Regions from separate parts of the Homo sapiens genome. Here all the other regions are linked to region 2. Evidence: promoter capture Hi-C in 16 types of primary human blood cells and fetal thymus (Javierre and others, 2016). All regions are on one chromosome and are shown on one strand. Each heading gives the region's core, a stretch centred on a gene start or on the middle of the fragment in contact. The rest is flanking DNA. Distances are from core to core; before and after follow the strand shown.

Evidence for each region. Contacts are between HindIII fragments. The CHiCAGO score rates a contact against its expected background, and 5 or more counts as called.
Region 1: a fragment that was not itself captured here is called in contact with the fragment with the promoter of CCNH in region 2 in 1 of 17 cell types (total CD4 T cells); the score reaches 6.3 in total CD4 T cells.
Region 3: a contact is called between a fragment that was not itself captured here and the fragment with the promoter of CCNH in region 2, in 4 of 17 cell types (non-activated CD4 T cells, naive CD8 T cells, naive B cells and 1 more). The highest score is 6.4, in non-activated CD4 T cells.
Region 4: a fragment that was not itself captured here is called in contact with the fragment with the promoter of CCNH in region 2 in 9 of 17 cell types (total CD4 T cells, non-activated CD4 T cells, total CD8 T cells and 6 more); the score reaches 13.5 in total CD4 T cells.
Region 5: a contact is called between a fragment that was not itself captured here and the fragment with the promoter of CCNH in region 2, in 2 of 17 cell types (total CD8 T cells and M2 macrophages). The highest score is 6.9, in total CD8 T cells.

Annotation. Positions count from the first base shown.
Region 1 is chr5:86,638,057-86,642,912 of GRCh38, reverse strand. No RefSeq gene overlaps it. Among named protein-coding and RNA genes, the nearest start is that of SNORD138, 20 kb to the right of the region's middle. The HindIII fragment of the contact is 6,938 bases long and covers 1-4,856 here.
Region 2 is chr5:87,411,039-87,415,453 of GRCh38, reverse strand. It overlaps CCNH (cyclin H), which reads left to right and starts at 2,524. Exons shown (of 9, transcript NM_001239.4): 1 at 2,524-2,776; 2 at 4,108-4,230. The coding sequence starts at 2,660. It overlaps LOC105379066 (a long non-coding RNA gene), which reads right to left and starts at 2,472. Exons shown (of 3, transcript XR_948543.1): 1 at 2,393-2,472. RefSeq lists enhancers at 2,568-2,737, 2,768-2,897. The HindIII fragment of the contact is 6,680 bases long and covers 1-3,763 here.
Region 3 is chr5:86,601,859-86,606,825 of GRCh38, reverse strand. No RefSeq gene overlaps it. Among named protein-coding and RNA genes, the nearest start is that of COX7C, 14 kb to the left of the region's middle. The HindIII fragment of the contact is 4,825 bases long and covers 1-4,543 here.
Region 4 is chr5:86,621,978-86,626,730 of GRCh38, reverse strand. No RefSeq gene overlaps it. Among named protein-coding and RNA genes, the nearest start is that of SNORD138, 3.8 kb to the right of the region's middle. The HindIII fragment of the contact is 973 bases long and covers 2,899-3,871 here.
Region 5 is chr5:88,278,734-88,283,741 of GRCh38, reverse strand. All of the region lies in intron 2 of TMEM161B-DT (TMEM161B divergent transcript), which reads right to left. Among named protein-coding and RNA genes, the nearest start is that of TMEM161B-DT, 12 kb to the right of the region's middle. The HindIII fragment of the contact is 164 bases long and covers 3,235-3,398 here.

The DNA of each region.
Region 1 (4,856 bases), core at 2,020-4,519, 770 kb after region 2:
AAATGACATACTTCTGTTATAGAACTGTGATAGATGAAACTTCATGTCTGTGGGGAGAGAGTTGAGCTCTCTCTCTCACCCACTGAATATCTTGAGAAAGGAAGAATAATTGAATTAAACAAAAATTGATAAAGTTTAATATAGGGAAATGGAGCAGGAAGAATTCTGTTCTATTATTGTTTAAAGAGTATTTATTTTCCTTTCTGGTTTCTCCCCTAAATAGTTGTGGATGTATGTTGGCAAAGCACTTAGCTTCTGAGGGCCTCAGTTTCTTACATAATACAAGAAAGTTGAACTACATGATCATTATGGGCCCTTCCTGCTTTCTTTTTCTTATGGGAAAATAGTTAATAAACATGTAAATTAGAAATATAACCTCAGCTAATGATAAGTGCTATGTAAAAATTTGGGTGGGACAAAAGAGTCACTAGAAGTAAGGAGGTGGCATTTAAGGTGAAACTTAAGTGATAAGAAGATAGTCATATGAAAATGTTGGGGCGCAGTGTGCTAGGCAGAGAGAACAGGAAATTCAAAAGCCCCAAGGCAGGAAAAAGACCACTGTGAAGGCTGGCACAGTGATAGGGTATGACATTGGGGAGGTGAGTCTATGGTAAAGAGTTTAGGTTTGACTTCATGACTAATCATAAAGGGAAAAGACTGACGGGGTTGATGCTGAAGAGTGATATGATCTGATTTAAGTTTTAAGACAACTATATGAGGTGCTGTGTAAGCAACAGACTGTAAGGAAGCAAGAGTATTAGCAGACAAGGCAGAAGGCTAAGGATGGTGGTAGAGACTAGGCCTTCAGCAGTGGGACAATGGTGAGAAACAATTGGACATGAAAGTATGTTTAGGAGAGAGCAAAAACAGGACTTGCTAATGGATTGGAGGAGAAGGGTGGGGAAAAGAGAGGACTAAGGATGTCTAGTTATTGATCTGACAAATACATGATTTTGTCTATAATGATAGTTTAATCTAAGGGCTCAGCTGTTGGTTATTTGCAACCGTTCAGCTGTATATGTGTCTGGATCATAGTGGAGATGTGAAGATTGAAAATGAAGATTTGAGAGACCTCAGCTTATACATGGTATTTAAAACCATGAGACTGGATAAAATCTTGAATGCTCTCATATTCACCTTTTTATTATCCAGCGGAAAAATTGGATCAGGTACATTGAGTCATTCTTATTAAATTACTTGCCATAGTATTTTAAAGTTCTCTGTGCTGATTTAATGATGTGATGCAGATGGGGAGAGAAGCTATGAAGTGTGGCTCTGAAAATACATGCTTTTAGTTGTAGCTTAATTTGAGGTTTTACTGTTAGTTTTTTATAACTGTGCAGTATTTTCCAGGCATATCTTCACCTAATGTTGTTCTTTATCAGACTGAAAGGGAAGACACAAGTTTTATCATCTAAATTTACTTTGATTGTGTCCCATTACCATTTGGTTTCTCATATATCCAAAGCCAATTGATTTCCAATTAAGAACAAAGTCTTCTTTAATTTTAAATCCACTTAATTAATTGTTTTAATTTCAAACATAACAGCATTGCAGGGAAATCTTCGTTTAAAGTTTATTATTAACTGAAGTAAACAGAAGATAATGGAAACTGGAAGCATAGGAATCTTCTGTTAACAATAAGTTCTTTATCTTTATAATAGAAGCTAGTGTTTCACCTTTATTTTCCCCATTTCTTTCTAAGATAAGCACTTAAGTCTCCTTTACATAAATAGTACGAAAGACAAAGGGCTTATTTCCTTAAAAGACAAAAAGCCATTATAAATCAGTAAGTGAATAATGATGCACATTCCAACCAAAAACTGAAAGCAAAACAAAACAAAAAGCAAGGCAAAGAATATAATCAGGCAATTCACATCATATAATAGATGCTTAACCTCAGTTTATACACATTGTACTCTGATTTTTTTCCCAAATTTTTTTATTTTATAGTAATAAACTGTAATTTTGTGATATCTGGTATATAATTCTGTGTGCCACTGGTCCTTTTTTTTTTTACTTTTCTTAGCGTCTTAAACTATTTCTCTGTGTCTCCTTTATTCTCCTAACTTATCTCTGATTTTAATCCTGATCTGCAGAATAACTAGATCTAAGCAGAAGGAAACTGAGGAAATGGAAGCAGGAAGTATTATTGGTACTAATTATTGGCCATCAAATCTGAGTTTCCTTCCCCTCTTGACTTTTTCTGATATATTTTCAAAATTCTCTTTTTGATAAATCTTGTTTTCCCAGTTTCTAATTAATCTACTTTTTGAAAATTTTTTTCTGTATTTACTCTTACAGATCCTTCCGTATTTCTCTACATAACAAAATATCTAAGATTTTCTTGACATTTTCTAAAGGAAAATTAAATTCAGATTACCTCTGAACATTAAATAATATGGAAACATTTCTTTGAAAGGTAGAATAGAAAAGTTCTGAGAATTCACATCAACAAAAAAGGACTCTTAGAAATGGGAACTAGGAGTTGCAGCTAATAAGGATGTTGGTTCTAGCAGGTAACATACAAATTGCTCTTAGAATGAAAATATACCTTTGAAGGATCTATTACATTTATCTTAAATATCCAGAAACTAGGCTTTGGAAGCTCAGAAACTAAGAATTAAATTTTTTTTTCCTCAAAATGGAATAAAAAGATTAGAGTGGTCCTAGCAGTCAGGCCACAGTCTAGTTTGGAAAGGGAGCTGACGCAGTTTCTTGATAAAAGACAAGGAGTTAAATAAAGCAATTCTCCCTCCCTCCTCTTTACAAAAATATTTTGAATTTTTTTTTTGAGCTAAATTCTCCTTTGATGCAGCTCTACTCTTAGTATCAGATCTAGGTTTCACTATTTCTAACTTTTTACATATATAATGACTAGTATATCTCATTATTAGTTTACCAACAGGATTCAAAATTGTAGGAAGCACAGAGCAGCCAGTAGATAGAAATACGGGGTAATGACAACAGGCTTTACCAATAGCTGTTGCAATATTAAGAGTGATCCTCATGTAAACAATAGGAGAAACATGTTTCCTGTCCACAAATTGCTCTATTACACCGGAGTAACTAACATCTAATATGGTTGGCAAACCATTACCTCACTTGCTGACAGTGGTACAGCTCTAACTTGTGTCATAATCCTGAGCTGGCCACCTCACATGTGCAGCAGAGGTAGCTGAACACCACAGTTTTCAGGTGGGTGCTCCATCTATAAAGAAGCAGCCACCTTCCCTTCAACTCAGCCTTTACCTTATTGACAAGCCCACACTTTGCCAGCTAGTCTGCAACTCTTGAATACGTTTCAGAATGAAACAGAGATATGTTTGGCTTTAAAAGACCTACCTCCTATATCATCTTCTAAAATTCATAGCTCAAACTCAGTGCTGAGTTGGGTTCCCCGCTTGGCAACAAAATGTTTTCCATTAAATATGGAATTTTTTGTTGCTTAGTCTGTATGGATTTTCTCTTTCTTTCAAGGTAATAAAGAAATTAATGACAGAATTAGCTAGATTATTGATAATTATTGGTTTAAAAATAGACTGTGAAATATTGATATAAAAGGTATTTTTGCTGTAATAAACTTAAAATCAGCAAAGGCAGTATCTTCTTTTAGTTTGAAAAAATTATTTTTGGAGTTAAGAAAATGTATTAAATCAAATCTCTACCAACCCACCCTTAGATAATAACCCATCAGAAACAGTTTTAAAATATATATATAAGAAAATGTTGATGGAGTATGTGGGCTGAGAAACCTTGGGTAGAACACAAAATGTATCCATTTGATACAAAATAGAAATAACTATTAACTTGATCTATTTTTAAGAACTAAAAAGCAGATTCTAACATCAAAGTATATTTTACTGCAAAGCTGCAAAAATGGACTTTGAAATACCTGAGAAATTAAAGAGACAAGTCTGATTTTAATTGCATGAAACTTATAACTTTTATGGATATTATGCACTTCTGTACTCCCAAATTTATATTCTTAGAAATATACTCATTTGCAGTTTACCTTCAGGTTTACACACATACATGTGTGTGCACACATGCATGAGTACAGACAACTTACATAATCAAATTGTAAGAGAAAATGTAAGCGACAGCACTTGAAAACTGAATTCAGAACACTAAATTTTTAGAAAATTAATAATGGTAAGGGTTTAGCTCTTTGAATCAGTAAAATCTACATTATCTCATATGGTGGCCCAGATCTTAGAGCTTTGGCAGTCATTCCTTTTGCTTAGGCAAGTTCTTTCATTCATAATGGCTGTGTACAAAATCAATTCAAAATTTAATAAAACAATAATCATTTAATACACAGTTTTTGTGGGTCAAGAATTCAGGAGAAGCTCAGCCATAAAGTTTTTGCTCAAGGTGTCTCATGAGGTTGCAGTCATGTGGCTGTGGCTGAGTCAGCTCCTAAGTTTCTTTACTCACCTTACTGGTATATCATCTGCAAAAATTCAAACAGCTGGGACTGAAACATCTGGGGCTGCTTGGGCCTCTTGCTCCATCTCTGTGATCTGTGTGATTTCTCCAGCATGGAATCTTCAGGATAGTCCGGTTTCTTACATGCTAACTCCGGACCCCCAAAGAGAGAAAGAGAGCAAGCTAAGACCTTTATTATCTTTTATGACCTTTTTTTTTTAACCACAATTATTGATGGATTGAGTTAAAAATTTCTGCTCAGGTTCAAGGGGGAACATAGATGCACCATTTAATGGAGGCGTTATCAATATCACATTGTAAGAATGTGACATGGGATATATATTGCTGTGTCCAAATGTGGATAAATACAATCTGCCACACTAACAAATGTCTGGCTAAGCGTTACACTTAGAATTTTTTCTATA
Region 2 (4,415 bases), core at 1,275-3,774:
ACAACTGCAGCACAATAAAAGAGATTGTATTTACTTTTAAAAGTCATTGAAATATTTCTTAACATTTCACTTCTGAGTAGTGTCTAATGAAATAGTGATATCTTTGTCAACAAGCTGTGAATTTCCCTATGTCTTCTAGGAAGAATAGGTTCTGTCTGGTTAGTTGGTTTGTTCTTGTTTGAAATATCTTCATTTAGTAGCAGGGACATTGTGATTTAAAACTAATGGAGTTGGGAGGCCCAGGCAGGCGGATCACTTGAGGCCACAAGTTCTAGACCAGCCTGGCCAACATGGTGAAACCCCATCTCTACTAAAAATACAAAAATTAGCTGGGCATGGTGGCATGAGCCTGTAGTCCCAGCTACTCAGGAGGCTGAGGCTGGAGAATGGCTTTAACCCAGGAGGCGGAGGTTGCAGTGAGCGAAGATTGTGCCACTGCACTCCAGTCTGGGTGACAGAGCAAGACTTTGTCTCAAAAAAGAAGAAGAAGAAGAAGAAAAAAACCTAATGGAGGTGTGGGTGGAGGGTAGAAGGGAACTGGCCATGTATTGATAATTTTTGAAATATGTTTCTCTGTATTCTTTATATTTGAAATTCTCCATAAATAAATAAGTAAAAATAATAGAAGTGAAGAGAAACACTTGCTACTTTTTAGTTGAAACTAGAAATGGAAATAGGTAAAGGCACAAGTTCTGCATTCCAGTGTGCCTCCTGTGGTAGCAATAGCAAAGAAACACTGTCGCACAACAGGCTGAGTAGGAGACTGTCACAGCATCCAGTCTGCTTACCTTAGTAAGAAAAACCATACATGAGCCTTAATGTTAGGGCATCAGCAACAATTGTATTCCTCAGACAGTTAATTTAGACAGAGCCCAATTCCTACTACATCTGAAAAATAAGATCAATGTCAATTTTCATGGACTAAAATTTGTTCAAGGTTTAAAAAAAATTACACCAGCAATGCCAGGTTTTTCATATATTTTTCCTAAATGACATTCAGAAATTTTACTCATATCTCTGTGGAAATCACAGTCTGCCAACTCTTTTAAATGCCTATTTTTATTATCCTTTACATAAAACTAAGGAGTTGTCAAATATCTTTCAGAAAAACAAAATGAAAAGAATTTATATGATATATATAACAGTCATGAGGCTAAGACTTTATATAGACATTTAATTATCTAGATCACTTATTTTCCTATCTTTTGTACCATTATGTTTTTCTCTTTTAAATTATTCTTTCCCCAACATGCAACATTTTAGGTTGTTCACAATTCATTGTAATCAATTTGCCATGCCCTTTGATCTTCTCTTTTTCTCTCTTTTCTTAGCCAATTTATGAGACCAGGTTAGCCACATATGTTGAGTGTGTGGCTCTCCAAAATTATATACCACAAATGGCATAAGTTTGAGGAATTCAGATAACTGTGGCAAACTCTAACCTCAGCTGTACCCAACAAAAATGAAAAAGAAAAGGCTTTCCCTTTCTTAAGCCCCTAAAAACATTTTAATAGAAAGCAGAGTTAAAGTCATCCTGCCACTTCTTCTTTTTACCTGTGTGGGCTTTTCAAGACCTAAATTCTCTAGGTCTCATCATCTTTCTCTTTCTTTTTATTTATTTATTTATTTTTTAGAAAAGCTATTTGCCATAGGGAAATCCATTTTTCGGATTGGATATATAATAAATACATGAGAGAATAAGGTATGCCTAAATGGGACAAACCAGAATCCATGTAAATTTTGAACCTCACCTGCAATTTTGAAAGTCCTATTAATTTAAAAAATAGTAAATACCTTAATTTTCATGATAGCTTACTGTAAGGCTCCCTAGAGGCAATGAAAATGGGAATCTCAATAAAACGAATACTACCATACATCCTGGCTTCAGAGATGAAAACAGAGGGAGAGGATTGGCTAGTTATCAACAGAAGGGTAAGGAAAAAAAGCACAGAGAAAGAACAGACAAGGCAACAAAAGTGGCAGAACTGTAAGGGCCAATACGCATCCACTGCTTCAAGTTTTTCAGCCATGTTCCATTCTCCGAGATTTCTGGTAGTGCTTCAAGAATACTGGTCTCCAAACTCTTCCTGAAAAGGGCTAGGAATGCTTCTGCCTGAAGATCTTACCTATTCTTTCTGGGCCCCGTGATCTCCCTACATGATTGATCAACCTACTATTTCAACTCTTTCAAGCCTTTTCACAAATGTCAACTTCAGTGAGGCCTCTATTTAAAAATGAGCACCCTACGAAATCCTTTCCTCATTTCTGATTATCCCCTGTGAATTTACATCTGCCTACTCCGTACCCTCAGTTTATGCCCCTTGAACACTCTTGCCGGGCGCTTCTCCTTTAAATCTTGCCTGGAAGGGGCGGAGCTATGTCCCAGACTCACCGAGAGGAGCGTTCTCTAGGCTCCGCCCACTTACGTCTCAGTGGGCGCCCTAACGAACCCGGGATACGGTCTGTTCCTAGTCCGCTCCGGAAATGCAACTGCGTACGGGCTGGCCGCGTAATCGTGACGACAGCGCGCCAGCGCCGGCTAGCCGGACGCCCTAGGCTTCCGCGAGATCTTCGGTGGGGGTACGGGTGTTTTACGCCAGGACGCTGATGCGTTTGGGTTCTCGTCTGCAGACCCTCTGGACCTGGTCACGATTCCATAATGTACCACAACAGTAGTCAGAAGCGGCACTGGACCTTCTCCAGCGAGGAGCAGCTGGCAAGACTGCGGGCTGACGCCAACCGCAAATTCAGATGCAAAGCCGTGGCCAACGGGAAGGTGAGGTTTTCCCAACGGTTGCCCAGTTGCCCGGTCACTAAATTCTGAGCAGCTGCGGGAGCTCTTCTGGCTCCCAGGACAATCTCGCTCCGTCGTTTCTCTGCCTCTGCGGCGCGGAGTGCGTTTTTCTATCAAAATAAGCGAGCACCTTGCCAGGTTCCGTGGGTACAAAGACGAACAACGCCATCCCCGTCGTCGAATGGCAGACAAGTAACCAGTCTTTGTAACGTAGTGAAGAAGAGAGTAAGTAGTGTGCTAAGGTAGTGCGTGGCAAGAGCCGTTCACTTGTCAAGAGATGATGTTGGGGAAGGTTTTTCCCAGTAGCCAATGCGGAGAAAATGGGAAAGGAAGTTCCAGGCAGTCAGAACCACCGTTCAGAGTGGGAGGGAGGTCAGAAGTTACAGAGATGGTGCGTGGACGTGTTTGTGGTCGTATGTGGCCGAAGTTGAGTACCTGTGCAGGAATGGCTGGGGAGGGTAGGAAGGGAACTTGTAAGTGGAAGTGAGGCGTTTAACATTTCCACTGAAAGGATGAGGAACCTTTGAAATATTTAAAATGGGAAGCTAACCTTATCAGATTTCCGTTCTGGAAACAGCGCTCTAGCAACCTCGTGGTGAATGGGTTGGATGAGGGAGGGAGACCAGAGACCAAGTACAAACCAAGTGACTGAAGATGGTTTGGACTATGGCCCGCTAGCCAAGTTCCTTCTGTTACAGCTCTCGGACTGGTTTAATCTTTCCTGCAAGCTCCACTCCAGCAAGTGTTCAGTGCCTCCAAATTACCGATACTGAGTTACTTTACTTTCTACCTTTAATTCACATCTATTTCATATCACTGATTTTAGCACCTGAATTAGTTTCCTAAGGGCTGCCTTAAAAAAATCACCACAAACTGGGTAGCTTAAAATAACAGAAATTTATTGAAACATTTGCTGTTTTTTTACAACTTGTGACGTAATGACTGACCGAGAAACGGATGTTGGAAGCTTTCCAATCATATTTTAAAAAGTCTGTCTACTTTTTAATTTATAAATAATGATATCACAACTGTGAGCATGTGCACACAGCCTGTCATGATTGTTTATACTTTAATGAAGCAAAGGTCTAGCTGACATTCCGAAAAGTCGTGAAATGATGGTACAGTTTTAGTTTATTAAATATTTTCCTACAGCTATTTTGTGTAATGATTAGCGAATCTATAAAGAAAATGAGGCGTGATATATACCCTTCGTTGGATATATAAACTAAATTTAATCTAGATAGAGAAAAATGTTTTACAATTGTTTAATTCATTGAATTCATTGAACTTGTGTTGTAATTGTTGATCTAAAGGTTCTTCCGAATGATCCAGTCTTTCTTGAGCCTCATGAAGAAATGACACTCTGCAAATACTATGAGAAAAGGTTATTGGAATTCTGTTCGGTGTTTAAGCCAGCAATGCCAAGATCTGTTGTGGTAAGTTACAGTGGTGATGAAATATAATGTCCTTTAGTTGGCTTGTGAAATTTGACCTCTTCTAAATTCCCTGTCCACTCAAGTCTTAAAAATTCACCTTAGTTACAATTAATTAGTTTTTGGCACATTATATATTTTTCAATACAGGCCTTAAATCATGAGTTGCTGTATCATATCTTCAAAAG
Region 3 (4,967 bases), core at 882-3,381, 810 kb after region 2:
GCATATACACATTTTAGAAATCATATCTGGCCAGGCGCGGTGGCTCATGCCTGTTATCTCAGCACTTTGGGAGGCCAAGGCGGACGGATCACGAGGTCAAGAGATAGAGACCATCCTGGCCAACATGGTGAAACCCGTCTCTACTGAAAATACAAAAATTAGATGGGTGTGGTGGCACGCGCCTGTAGTCCCAGCTACTTGGGAGACTGAGGCAGGAGAATCGCTTTAACCCAGGAGGCAGAGGTTGCAGTGAGCTGAGATCGTGCCACTGCACTCCAGCCTGGCAACAGAGCAAGACTCTGTCTCAAAAAAAAAAACCAAAAAAAACAAAAAAGGAAAAATAAAAAAGAAAAAGAAATCACATCTTTCATCAATACCTCAATTTTTAATCCATCCCCACAGGGCTCTTTCTTGCTTTCCCCTGCTCCAAGTCTGATCTATCTTGCTAGGAGAAATAATGGATCTTCTTTATAGTCTCTCCATAGAAAATGATATTGCAAAATTGTCACATGAAGGGGTGATCAAAAGGTATGCAACAAAAAACTATAGGAAACTGTCTTATAGAAATGTATCAGGCAATTAATGATTAAAATATTATTTTACTTTTGTGTGTTTGTCCTTCACATGGAAGCAGCAAGGAGAAGTGCAGAGTGAAAGGGGGTAAAACCCCTTATAAAGCCATCAGATCTCATGAGAACTCACTATGACGAGAACAGCATGGAGGTAACCACCCCCGCTTCACTTCAACACCTAATGTTTTATTTTTAATGCTTTGTGGTTTTTATCTAAAAAGTGCCTCCTTATGATCCACCTCTGCTTGTCACCTAGCACAACTGCATAAATTAATGTCCAAGGAGACAGAAATTGTCAGAGAATGAAGTATGTTCAATTATACGATACATTTTAAAAATGTTATTTTTTCCCCAAGTGTTTCAAAATATATATGCTACAGGATGGCTTTATTCAACAGTCTCGGCTCCAAAATAACTTCTGGGTATTTCCAAATATCAAATCCACTCCAAGGAGATTTGACAAGACTTAGTTTGTACCAAGAGAGTATGAGAAGGTGAAATGATTTAGAATATCAGAAGCTAAACCAAACAACAGACAAAAAACAAAGTGAAAAAACGTCTCGTTACCTTTGGATACCATTTTTTCCCTTAAAAGTGTTTCGTGTTTTTCATTCCAACTTATTTGTCTTACCTTAATTTAGGTTTAAAAATGGTTCACTTTTCTTGAATCATCTCATAATACAACCATTTGTCATTGAGAATTACCAAGTATGGGTAGATACATATTTATAAGATAAACACAGAAACTAATATTTCTCAATTTGAAAATCACCAAGTCTCGTTATATTTATATTCCATCTCCATTTTAGCTTAACTTGCTGTGACACTTTGTTACTGCTTTGACCAGGTCTTGTTAAATTGCTACAGTAGGGCGGGGTGTGGCGGCTCACGCCTGTAATCCCAGCACTTTGTGAGACCAAGGTGGGTGGATCATGAGGTCAGGAGTTCAAGACCAGCCTGGCCAAGATGGTGGAACCCCATCTCTACTAAAAATACAGGCAGGATGCGGTGGCTCACGCCTGTAATCCCAGCACTTTGGGAGGCGGAGGCGGGCGGATCACGAGGTCAGGAGATCGGGACCATCCTGGCTAACATGGTGAAACCCAGTCTCTACTAAAAACAAAACAAAAAAAATACAAGAAATTAGCCAGGTGTGGTGGCACACGCCTGTAGTCCCAGTTACTGGGGAGACTGAGGCAGGAGAATTGCTTGAACCCGGGAGGTGGAGGTTGGAGTGAGCCGAGATCTCACGCCACTGCACTCCAGCCTGGGCGACAGAGTGAGACTCTTAAAAAAAAGAAAAAAGAAATTACTATGGTATCTCGTGCTTTGTTTTATAACTAGAATACCAAATGATTAAGTAGCTTCATTTATTCTTTTTAGGGAAACATAATTTAAATGATGAAGGGTTTTTTATAATAAATTTGATGCATTGTTCTAAAAAGAAAGACTTTTTCCAGAGTAGGAGCAAAATAAATATAGGAGAGATTTGAGAGTAGAACTAACGTTCTTGTATTCTATATGTTGAATATAAACAATTGTGCAAGTAACTCCCTGAAAATCATGATTTATAACCAGGTCCAATACTATTGATCAATGTATGTAAGCTGCTGCTGTATTTCTATTATTCGGGTGAGACTACAGAGAGGCACTCTGATCCTCTAAACAATGTGTTTGTTGGCAACTACATTGTTAAAATAGTGATACGGTTTGGCTGTGTCCCCATGCAAATCTCATCTTGAACTGTAGTTCCCATAATCCCCACGTGTTGTGGGAGGGACCCTGTGGGAGGTAACTGAATCATTGGGGTGGTTACCTCCACGCTGTTCTCGTGATAGTGAGTTCTCATGAGATCGGATGGTTTTATAAGGGGTTTTACCCCCCCCCTTCACTCTGCACTTCTCCTTGCTGCTGCCATGTGAAGAAGGATGTGTTTGCTTCTCTTTCTGCCATGATTGTAAGTTTCCTGTGGCCTCCCCAGCCCTACGGAACTGTGAGTCAATTAAACCTCTTTCCTTTATAAATTACACAGTCTTGGGTATGTTCTTATAGCAGTGTGAGAATGAACTAATACATATAGTCCATCAAAAGGTATTTGTGTTATAACAGTTTCTGTGTTTGGCTTTTCAGTTTGGACTTATAATTTTGAAAAAATGGAATTTACTTGATAATAACATCTGTGCCCTTTGTGTAAATTATGACTGCATTCAACAAAGAGTTGTTTTAAACATGTCAGCTAATTATAAAACTATTACACAAAGTGGGTTAGGTTTAATTACCAGTTCTCTTCACATCCCTCATTGAACAGCATTCGAAAACTGTATTATTATCCCTGAATTGTGCTTGGCCATCTTCTTTCCTACTTGTGCTAAGGGATTTTTATAAATAACAGACTTATAAAACTCATTTATGGATTTACTGTGAGGATTTTTTTCCTAAGGATGTGGTTCAATACACTTCACAGTGTCATTTTTATGAGGACCCATAGGAAAAATTTCTCTCTGGTCTTAGACTAGAATAAACAGGCTTCTTCCGAGTAGCTGACTTGCTTTTTTGCCTGTTTGCCTATGGGTACTGTTAATAATGAACTTCACTGTGATTTCCTCTTTAGGTTCCTAGAAAACTTAGAGCCAAATATGCGATCCATCTTCAGTAGAAACGATGAATGTATTTTGTGTACCCTACTCCTGGCTGTATCTTCTTTTCTAAATTCACCTTTGCTTCACTTTACTTCTCAATTTAAAATCTATTTTATCTTGTTATATAGTGTGTGTCTTTCTTTGGCACGTCAAATGTTTTCTGGAATAATATTAACATGTAAATCAACTAATAAATCATAAATCATAAATTTCCTCACATAGAAAGTTGTTGCAGTGTAATTTATCAAGTTTTCTCTTCTATGCTTTATGGAGCCTGGGCCAGACAACATAATTGAAGCTAGCTAATGTAACATACAATCCCCAAATTTAGTGGCTTAACACAATTTATTTCTCACTCATGTCATAATCTGAATCAGATGTTAAGCATGTGATCTTCCACGTGATAATTTAAGTGCCATCATCTTCTAGGGTCTCTTTGGAGTCCTCTACTCGATTCACACACTACTACCTAGAAGACAGGGGTCTGAGAAATATGGGATTTCTGTGTGCTTGAGAGGAAATTGGAAATAGCTTGGTTTAAGACATACTGTTTTCTTCAGAGACTTTCTAATTTCTTGCTGGAGTATTATGGAGTGACTCCACAGGAATTTAATATCCGGTGGTTAAATATAATCTTGGGGCTTTGTTACAGTGGCTGAAAAATCCTCATAATTCTACTGTGGTTTTCTTGCTCCTACACATTTCCCCAGAGTTGCACACTCCAAGGAACACACTATAACCTGGAATCAGACTGACATGGGTTCAATCCAAGATCTACCATATTTAGCTTTGGGCTAGTTGCATAACATTTCCCTATCTTTCAAGTGGGGACAATAATGTTACCCACTTTATGGACTTGTTATGAGGGTTAATTGAAATATTTGATGCTTTAGAGTGTTCTATTAGTAAATGTCCCTATAATAATCCCCTTTGGAGGTATCCTCCTCCATGCCACTTTTTAATTAATTTTCTCTTTTTGCTTCATTGTCTAGATTGGCCAATGAAGTAGGTAGGTCCAAAATATTTTTTAAAAAGCTGATTCATTATTAGAATGTAATCTCTCAGAGGGCCAGGGGTTAGGTTTTTATCTGATTACTGATGTATCTATCGTAAGTACCCTGCATAAAGACAATCAATGACCGTTCACTGAAAACAATGAATGATGTGGCAATTTGAATTTACATTAAATACTATGTTTTAAGTGTGAAATTGTTACTTTTTTTCTTTTATTACGACACAATATTTTACATATGTATGGAGTACGTGTGAGTAATTTTTACATACATAGAAGGTATAATGAGAAGGTTGGAGTATTTGGGTGATCTATAAGCTTAAGTATTCATCATTTCTACGTGTTGGTAACACTTCAAGTCCTTTCTTCCACTATTTTGAAATGTAGAATATATTATTGCTAACTATAGTCATCCTAGTCAACTACTGAATGTTAGAATTTTTTCCTTCTATCTAACTGTGAGTACCATTTCACCAACTTCTCTTCATTTCCCTCTCCCGCCCTCACATCCTCCGATGCCTCTATTATCTACCATTCTATTCTCTATGTCCTTCAGATTAAGTTTCTTAGTTCCCGCAGATGAGGGGGAGCATGAGGTATTTGTCTTTCTGTGCCTGTGTTATTTCACTTAACGTAATGACTGCCAGTTCCATCTGTGTTGCTGCAAATGATGCGATTTCATTTTTTATGGCTGAATACTATTCCTTTGTGTTTACATGTCACATTTTCTTTATCCATTCATCT
Region 4 (4,753 bases), core at 2,136-4,635, 790 kb after region 2:
CCCTATTCAACCCATAATAATTATGCTATCCACCTTTTGTTAGAGCTGGGAAAATTTGGGGGGAGGAGTGAATTTTAGTAGGAATAATCTGCAAAATTCAAAGTTGAGATGACTGTACAGGAATGTAACACAAAGCTGTACTGTTTTACAGTGATACAGAGGTACTGAACAGGAAAGCACGAGGGCTCTGGCATGATGCTGTGTCCCTCTGGAAGAAGAGACTCACTTTCCAATTTTTACAAAAGTATACAATGGGTAAATAGAGTCCATGAAAATGAGAGATAAGGTGGAAATGGCTAGTAGGTAGTTGCTCAGAGCTGCATCTGAAAACCACTTTGAAAGCCCAAGATGACTTATCTCCATCATTCTGGCCCCTGTCCACACATGAAAAGTGCTGAAAAGAGATCTTACCACCTCTGAGTCAGGCTTTTGTGTGGTACCCACATTTGTAATTGTAGATACAATTCACTTTAATTGGGAAGAGTCCTTAAAAGATCATCTAGTTGACACAATTCTTTGACTGAAGAATCAGAGAAGTAGATAAGTGATACTTTTGAAGGACATATGAAGTGCTTAAGTATTCTGAAGGTAGGACAACTTTTACTGCAGTAACTAATGATCCCCAAACCCCAAATGCTTATAACAATGAAAATTTCTTGCTCACTCTATACATCTGACATGGGGCTACACTTACAGAGTCTTTCAGGAACCTAGGCTGATGGAGGCTATATCCCTGTAGCAGGAAGAAGGGAAGTTGGTGAAGGGTATACTGCCTTTTAGAGCTTTCATGTAGAGGTAATGCATGTAACTTCTCAGTTTTTTATTGTCAAAGCAAAGGGGTTAGATTTTGATCCTATGTGTACAGAAATAGAGCTGTCATATTTATGAAAAGCCTTAATGATTACTATACCAGGTTAAGGAAGGAAATGTGGGTACCACACAAATCAACTATACATTTTTTGAATTATATACTCAGTAAAAAATCATCACTGTATTAAGATATATGGAAAGTGGCTATCTTCCCTCTGGGTTATAACGTTACAATAGCTATGATAACAAAACACCATTTGATAATAGATGAAGTTTTTAAAAAGGTTTTGATGTAGGCAGAGTATAAATCATATAAAAGCTCATATTATTATTTTCTATTGAAAGGAGACAGAAAGAAAAAGCATAAACGGTATTTCTGCTCTATTCTATATAGCTTACTCTAAAGACCTATGCTGTGATCTTTATTTATTGGAAACACTAAAATGAAGGCTTATTACATTTTATGGCATTCCAGTCCATCTTTTTAGTATAGTATATAGAATAATTGCAGCAGGCAGTGTCTTTTGCATACCCAATAGCCACTTTCTCTTCCCTTTCTGGTAGAATCCTGACTTGTTTCAGTATCTCCTCTGCCCACGTAAGACTTGTGAGAAAATGCTAATTGATCAAATTTAATCATTGTCATGCTATTCCCTTGCCCGTGTTATATTCAGAAGTGAATTTATCACTTTTCTGGACAGTGACTAATGAGGGATAGTCTGAAGGAAAGCTTTCTTCACTTTGAAAAATAACAAAGACAGTAATTTTTCTTGCTGGGTATTGTCAAGTCTGTATGGGATAACTGGAACTGTAGCAGCCATCTTATGAGAATGAAAGAAATGGTTTAGAAAAAACAGGCTGAGGAACTTGGAGGGCCCTAAAATTCCTGAGCTCCATCTTTTGTTACACAAGATTAAAAAAAATAAAAAATTCCCCAGTTCTTTAAGCCAGTGCTTCTTAAAATGCTGGCTTGATATAAGATGAAGAGCTTTCCTGGAATGTATATCAACACACTTTCCTTCATTAAGGGTTTGTCTGCAAAGAAAAAGAGATATCAGATAGACTAAACAGTGGTGACATAGTTGAGTTACATTTTGGTGCAAATTTAAACTCATTTTTTTTCAACTGGATTATTTCAATACATTTATGTTTGGTGGGAGAACCAATTTCCAACTATCCAGGAAAAATTCATTTTTATTCATAAAGCATTGAAACATACATTTAGTGCGTAAGAGGCCTAGAATTTGTTTTTAGGTAATTTTTATTCTTGGCTTCAGATTATTGAAAGGATTAATAGAATAGAGTGTTAATGGATCACCAGCTAAATTATAGATGCAGGATACATGAATAAAGAAGGCTCTCTGGGCTCAGAAAGATCACAAGCTGGTATGAAAGGTAGATAAGGAAATCAGTAATTACAGTACCTGCTGAATTATAAGGCTGTTTACAGGGTGTTAGAGATTTATGTGGAGTGTGTTAAATCAGGAAGGGACTGGGTTTGGTGGCACATGCCTATAATCTCTCAAAGGAGGAGTAATTGCGGCCAGGAGTATGAGACCAGCCTGGGCAATACAGTGAGACTCAGTCTCCTCAAAAAATAAAAAGTACTAGCCAGGGATGGTGACAAGCCCCTGTAGCCACAACTACTCCAGATGCTGAGGCAGGAGGATCCCCTGGAGGGTGGCAGCCAGCTATGATTGTGCCACTGTACTCCAGCCTGGGTGACAAATCGAGACCCTATCTCTTAAAAAAATAAAATAAAAAGGGAAGGCTTTATAGAAAAGGTGGCACCTGAGCTAAATTAAGACTTGGAGGTGGTACATAAAACTGTGTGATATGGCTGGGATGAGGCTGAAACTATAGGGAAGTGACCATTGTCATGGTGAGGTGTCTTACAGTGAGTAAAATGATGACTTGCATTTTAGCACTATCATTCTGGCATCACTTTTGAAGACACAGTGTCTACAGCACAGACCAATCTATTAACTATTGCAGAATTGCTCTGGGATCAACTTTAACGACTTACACAATGCCCATTATACTTCCCCCATCTCGCTTGTTTCAATTAAGCACTCTACACTAAAAGCTTAAGAAAATTTGCCTCAATTTAGGTGTATTTTCTTTTTTTTTTTTTCTGTTTTCTTTTTTGAGACAGTCTTGCTCTGTCTGCCAGGCTGGAGTGCAGTGGTGTGACCTCGGGTCACTGCAACCTCTGCCTCCTGGGTTCAAGCAATTCTCCTGTCTCGGCCTCCTAAGTAGCTGGGATTGTAGGCGCCCACCACTACACCCAACTATTTTTTTGTATTTTTAGTAGAAATGGGGTTTCACCATGTTGGCCAGGCTGGTCTCGAACTTCTGACCTCGTGATTCACCCACCTCGGCCTCTGAGTGCTGGGATTACAGGTGTGAGCCACTGCGCTGGGCCTCTATTTTCATTTTTAATCTTCACAACTACACCAAATTAGATAAAAGGGAGGTACAGATTGTCGAAGACGAGGAATTTATCAACCCTGGCTTTGAATCCAGCCAAGACTTAGTTCTGAGCCCACATTCTTAACCTCTATGGTCTCTGCAGCAAAACCTAAGACATTTTGAATTACTTCCTTCATTGTGGCCATAACTTAATTACGGAAACAGTGATAGTGACTTCTCTTTAAAACAAATCCTGGATTCTAACCAAAATTCCTATTCCAGTATTCTAGTGAGTTAGGGAAGCATCTGCAAAAGGTACAAACTTTTTACTTGGTCCTGATTAGTTTCACATGGGCATTTGTGGGTTCATCCAGTGTAATTTTTTTTTTTTTCCCCGAGAATCTGGATTTTTATGGAGACCTCCTGGTTTTAAATATTGGCTTGAATTTTAAAAACCAGTTTAGGGAAATAGAAAACTGAACTACTGTTATGGTTAATTTTGTGTCAACTTGGCAAGGACACAGTGCTCAAATATTTGGATCAACAATCCTCTAGATATTTCTGTGAAGGTGTTTCTTGAATTATCATGAGTTTACCATTTAAGTCAGTGGACTTGGAGTAAAGCTGATCCTCCTTATGTGGCTAAGCTTCTTGAATTCGTTGAAGATCTTAATGAACAAAGACTGACCACAAGGAGGTCCTCCCGCAAGGAGGAATTCTGACAGCGACTGCCTTTGCCGAGTCTCCAGCCCGCGGGCATACCCATATTTTCAACCCAAGCCTCCAGAATCAGATGACAATTTTAATTTTTTCTATGTGCATCCTCTTGATCTGCTTGTCTAGAGAACCCTAACACAGAAACTAAGCAGTTATACACCCTCTACCACTTACAATAAACTTACGCACTTACAGCCAGCCTGCTGAAGGCTTTTTATGGGGATGGCACAATCTGTACTATTACAAGACAGGCAGAGGAGGTTTTTTTCTCACTCACATATATCCCTCAAATACTTTTCTAGCTAGACCTAGCTACCCATAACTGTTACTATTGATTCCTAATATATATTTGAACATCCTCTCCAAAAAATTCATATTCATTTAGGACTTGTGAGAAGTTTTTATATAACTTACTGGATCTCAAAAACAATCCAGTGAGGTAAGCCTTACCATAATTTCCAGGAAAACCAAAATCATCTAACGAACCTTAAACTCTTACTCTTGCTTCTACTTTGAGACGGAGTATCGCTCCATCACCCAGGCTGGAGTGCGATGGCATGTTCGCAGCCCAATGCAACCTCCGCCTCCCAGGTTCAAGTGATTCTCCTGCCTCAGCCTCCTGAGTAGCTGGTACTACAGGCACATGCCACCATTCCCAGCTAGTTTTTTTGTATTTTTAGTAGAGACGGGGTTTCACCATGTTGGCCAGGATGGTCTTGATCTCTTGACCTCGTGATCCGTGCGCCTTGGCCTCCCAAAGTGCTGGGATTACAGGCATGAGCCATCATGCCTGGCCGCTTCAACTTTTTCCAAA
Region 5 (5,008 bases), core at 2,067-4,566, 870 kb before region 2:
ATTTACTTTCATTGGTTCTTTATATAAATGGAATCCTACTGTAAAATTCTTTTGTGAATTTTTATTTGCTCAACATTTTGTTAGAGATTTATCTATGTCCATGAACTTGTAATTTATTTTTTCCACCACTATATTCTGCTGTATGAGCATATACAATGTATTTAATCACTCTACTGTTGATGGACAGTGGATTTTCTTCCACGTTTTACTGTTATAAATGCCATTATGAATTTTCTTGCTCATGTCTCCTGCTATACATTTTTCCTGGGTCACAGAAGATGTGCATCTTCAGCTACTAGATAATACCATATTGTTTCCCAAATTGATTATATCAATTCATACTCCAACCAGCAATGTATAAGAATTGTAATATTGCCAGACTTTTACATTTTTGTTCATCTGGTGGGTGTGAAATGGTATTTCCTTGTGGTTGGGTATCTTTTCAGGTTTTCTCCTGTATGAATTGCCTGTTTGGGGTGGAAAGCATTATCTTCATTTTCATTGAATTGTAGTGGTTCTTTACACAGTGTGAATACTAATCCTTTCGATAGTCACATGTGTTGCAAAGATCTTTTCCCAGTTTGTGACTTGTCTTTTATTTTCCTATGGTGTCTTTTTCCTTTTTAACTTTTTATTATAGAAAATGAAAACATACCATAGTATCCCTTTATCTATGGGTTTGCTTTCCATGGTTTTAGTTAACTGCAGTCACCTCATGTCCAAAAATATTAACTGAAAAATTCCAGAAATAATTCATTAGTTTTAAATTGCACATCATTTTGAGCAGCATGATGAACTCTGCCATTCTGCTCCATCTTGCCCAGGATGTGAGTCCTCCCTTTGTCCAGTGTATCTATGCTGTATATGCTACCCACCTGTTAGTCACTTAGTAGACTTCTTGGTTATCAGATCAAGTGTAGCAGTATCACAGTGTTTGTGTTCTTTACTTTACTTAATAATGGCTTGGAGTGCAAGAGCGGTGATGCTGGCAATTTGGATATGCGAAAGAGAAGCTGTAAAGTCCTTCCTTTAAGTGAAAACATAAAAGTTCTCAATAAGGAAAGAAAAAACACAGTATATACAGGGTCCAGTACTATTCTCAGTTTCAGGCATCCACTGGGGGTCTTGGAACACATTCCCTGCAGATAAGTGGGGATTTACGGCATGTAAAAGTATGAAGAATAGAATACTTAGTCCCCATATACCTATTACTCAAAAATTCTCAACTCATAACCAATCTTGATTTATACTACCACCCACTTTCTGCAACTCTTATCTTGAAGCATACCCCAGACATTATATCACTACATCTCTAAATATTTCAATATGTATTTCTAAAAGATAAGGAATCTTTAAAAATTACTATCACACAAAAATGGTTTAATTCCCTAATATCATCAAATATTAAGCATTCATATTTCTATAAATGTGCCCTTACAAAATTTTTCAAAAACGAAATTTGAATAATGATACAGATAAAATCCTGTGGTAGACAACCTCCAAAATGGCACCCAATAATCCCTTCTCATACTGTACTTGGTTGGTGTGTGTGTCTGTGTTAGTCTGTTCTGCATTGCTATAAAACAATACCTGACGCTGGGTAATTTATAAAGGAAAGAACTTTATTTGGCTCACAGTTCTGCAGGCTGTAGAAGCACGGCACCAGCATCTGCTTCTGGTGAAGGCCTCAGGAAGCTTTTCTTCATGGCAGAAGAGAAGGGGAGCAGCATATCACATGGTGAGAAAGGGAGCAAAAGAGATGACAGGCTCTTTTAAACAACCAGCTCTTGTGTGAACTCAGATAGTGAGAACTCACTTATTGCCACAAAGACAGCACCAAGCCATTCATAAGGGATCTACCCTCATGAACCAAACACCTATCACCAGCCCCACTTCCAACACTGAGAATCACATTTCAACATGAGATTTGGAGGGGACACACATCCAAACCGTATCAGTGACCCACAGGTTGGCTACATATCTGTGTAATAATATGTCACTTTGGGGGCTAGGTCAACAACGGCATAAAAAACCATGGTGGCTTCTGCTTCTCTCTTGGATTACTTGTTTTAGAGGAAGCCAGGAAGCTCTATGAAGAGGTACATGTGGTGAGGAAGTGCGGTATTCTGCTAAACAGCTAGTGAAGAACTAAAGTGTCCTGCCAATAGCATGTGAAAGTGTATCCTCTGGTACTAGTTAAAACATCAGATGATTACAGTCTCAGCTGATGGTTTGACTGATAACTTCACAAGAGACAATGAATCAGAACCACTCAGCTATGCTGCTTCCGGATTTTTGACCTTCAGACACTACATGAGATAATGAATATTTATTGCTTTGCATGTTGTATTTTGGGGCAGTTTATTATGCAGCAATAGAAAATCAGTATACATTTTGGTACTCAGAAGTGGGGTGTTAGCAAAAACCTAAAATGTAAGTGTGGTTTTAAAACTGGCAGTGAACAGAAGGTAGAACTTGGAGGAGAGTGTTAATGAAAGTTTGAAGAGCTTTGAAGAAATTTTTTATAGAAGCATAATAGATAACCTTTGAGGAGGCTGCAGGTGACATCTTAACAGATTAGAAAACTCTTCTTGGAAACTAGAGGGAAGGAGATCCTTGTTACATAATGGCAGAAAGTTTAGCAAATTTGTTATCCACAGATATGTACAAAGTAGAAAAAATGCCTAATTAACTCATTGATCTAGCAAAGGAGATTGCCGGCCAAGTGTTAAATATTTCATGTGTATTTTTTCTTGTTGCTGATAGTAAAATGTGTGAGAAGAGAGACCATCAAAGTAAGGACTGTTAAACAAAAAGGAGCCATGGCTGGGCATGGTGGCTTATACCTAAAATCCCAGAACTTTGGGAGGCTGAGGTGGGAGGAATGCTTGAAGCCAGGAGTCCAAGATCACCTGGCCAACACAGCAAAAAACAGACTCTATTACAAACAAACAAACAAAAACAAGTCAAAACTTGCTGGATTTGAAGATTCCCAGCCTGTGCAGATGACAAATGTGCTAAAATTGGGGAATATCTCTGAGCAAAAAGCAAATCTAGGGCACTGCCAGTAAAACATAAAGTTGAGGCTGTAGTTATAAAGTCCTTTAATAGCTCAGAAAGATCTTAAGTTGTGCCTCAGAGTATTTTCATCAGACAAACGATGTGTCTCAGAAAATCTCTGAATAACATCACAGGTTTTTAAAAAGTTTAAGGGTATTTTCATCAGCAAAAGCTTGAGGCAGAGTTTATGTGGGACGAGATGTGTGGTTGTTGCTTTTGTCTGATGGAGTGAACTCAAAATTCACAAGTGAGCCACAAAGTTTTTAAGAGAAGTCTATTAGCAGAAACATGGCCAGCCTGGACTGAAAGGCACAGAGAGAACCAAATGGAAAGAAGCTTGTGGGACATCCAAGCTTCTATAGGCAGAAAGCAGGCAGAAGTGTAAACAAGAAAAAGAAAGGGTGACTCAGTGAGTAGATCCAAGATCCCAGAAGGCAGAGCTAAGAGAATTCTAGGCCTTGAAACTTGACCAAGCAACTGCCAATCTGTGCCCAGGTGGGTTTCAGAATTTCTGTGAACCTATGTACCTCCAATATTCCCTCTTTTTAAATATACATGTCCACATTTATTATCCTATTCATTTTCTATTACATGTGGAAGCAGAGACTGTGTCTTTAGTGTATGAGTCTTCAGATCAAAAAGAACTCTTCTTGAGGAGCTGTACTTAAGTACACCTATGAGTGTCATCCACAATTGGAACTGATTTAGATTTCTAGACCTTGAACTAATGGTGTCATAGGATGAGAGCTTTGGAGAGCTTTTGGAGGGGATGAATATATTTTGCAAATCAAGAACTATCAATCATTGGGGCCAAATTGTGACAGCTAGCTTCCCAGTATTCATGCTCTTGTGTAATCTCCTCCCACATATTGTCAGGGAAATGTCTGTGTGACTAACATTATATAGTAGAAGTAATGTTACATCACTCTGAATGATCATGGTTTCTGTCTCTCTCTTGGATCACCTGTTCTAGAGAAAGCCAGTTGCCATGTTGTGAGAAAACACAGGCAGCTCTACGAATGAGCCCTCTAGGAAGTGGATCCTCTAACACCAGTCAAACTTTCAGACTACAGCCCAGCCAACATCTTGACTGCAAATTCATGAGACCTTGGGCCAGAACATCTAGCTAAACCACCTGTGGATCCTAAGAAAGTGTATAAATATTTTTAGATTTAAGCTAGGGTGATTTGTTATACAGTAAGATAACTAATCCAAGTTCACAGGTTGCTTCATATTGAACTAAGTCTCTTGTAATCTACGGTTTTCTCCACTTGTCCTTCTCGTCTCCTTTTCTCCTGCAACATATTTGTTGAAATTAATTTGTCCCAATATTCTCCAAAATTGGATTTTTCATTTATATTTTCCATTCCAAAATATTACGTTGTGGTAGGTTTCATTGGCTTAAAGTTTTAATGGTGTTTATATTTTCTGCAAATTGGATGGATCTAAAGACCTGATTAGTATCAGGGTCAAATTTTTGATAAGATTTTAACATCAGTAGTGGTGTTTTTCCATTAAGAAACATATGTTTTCTTGTCTGTCATGTTAGCAGCTGTTGAAATGCAATAAATAAATCCATTTGTTCATTAGGAATTTCAAAATGGCAATTTTCTATCATTCCTCCATTTATTAGCTAGAATACATGTACAAAGAGAACCCTCTCCTCATCTACTATGTGGTTACTTACAGTTCACATACAAAAGGCAGGACAAATGCCTAATTACTTTAAAAACAAAACAAAACTGATTTTCAAAATAATGAATTGATGCAACAGCATCTTCTACTGTTGACCAACTAAATGCTGTTTGTTTTACAATCATTATGTACTCAGATTTAAAGACACTTGATATGTTCCAATCAATTGCATTTACTGTCCTTATTGACACTCAAATGGTCTCATCTATGGCCAGAAGGATGCTTTTCAGTTGTCTCCTGAGTCCATTTGATA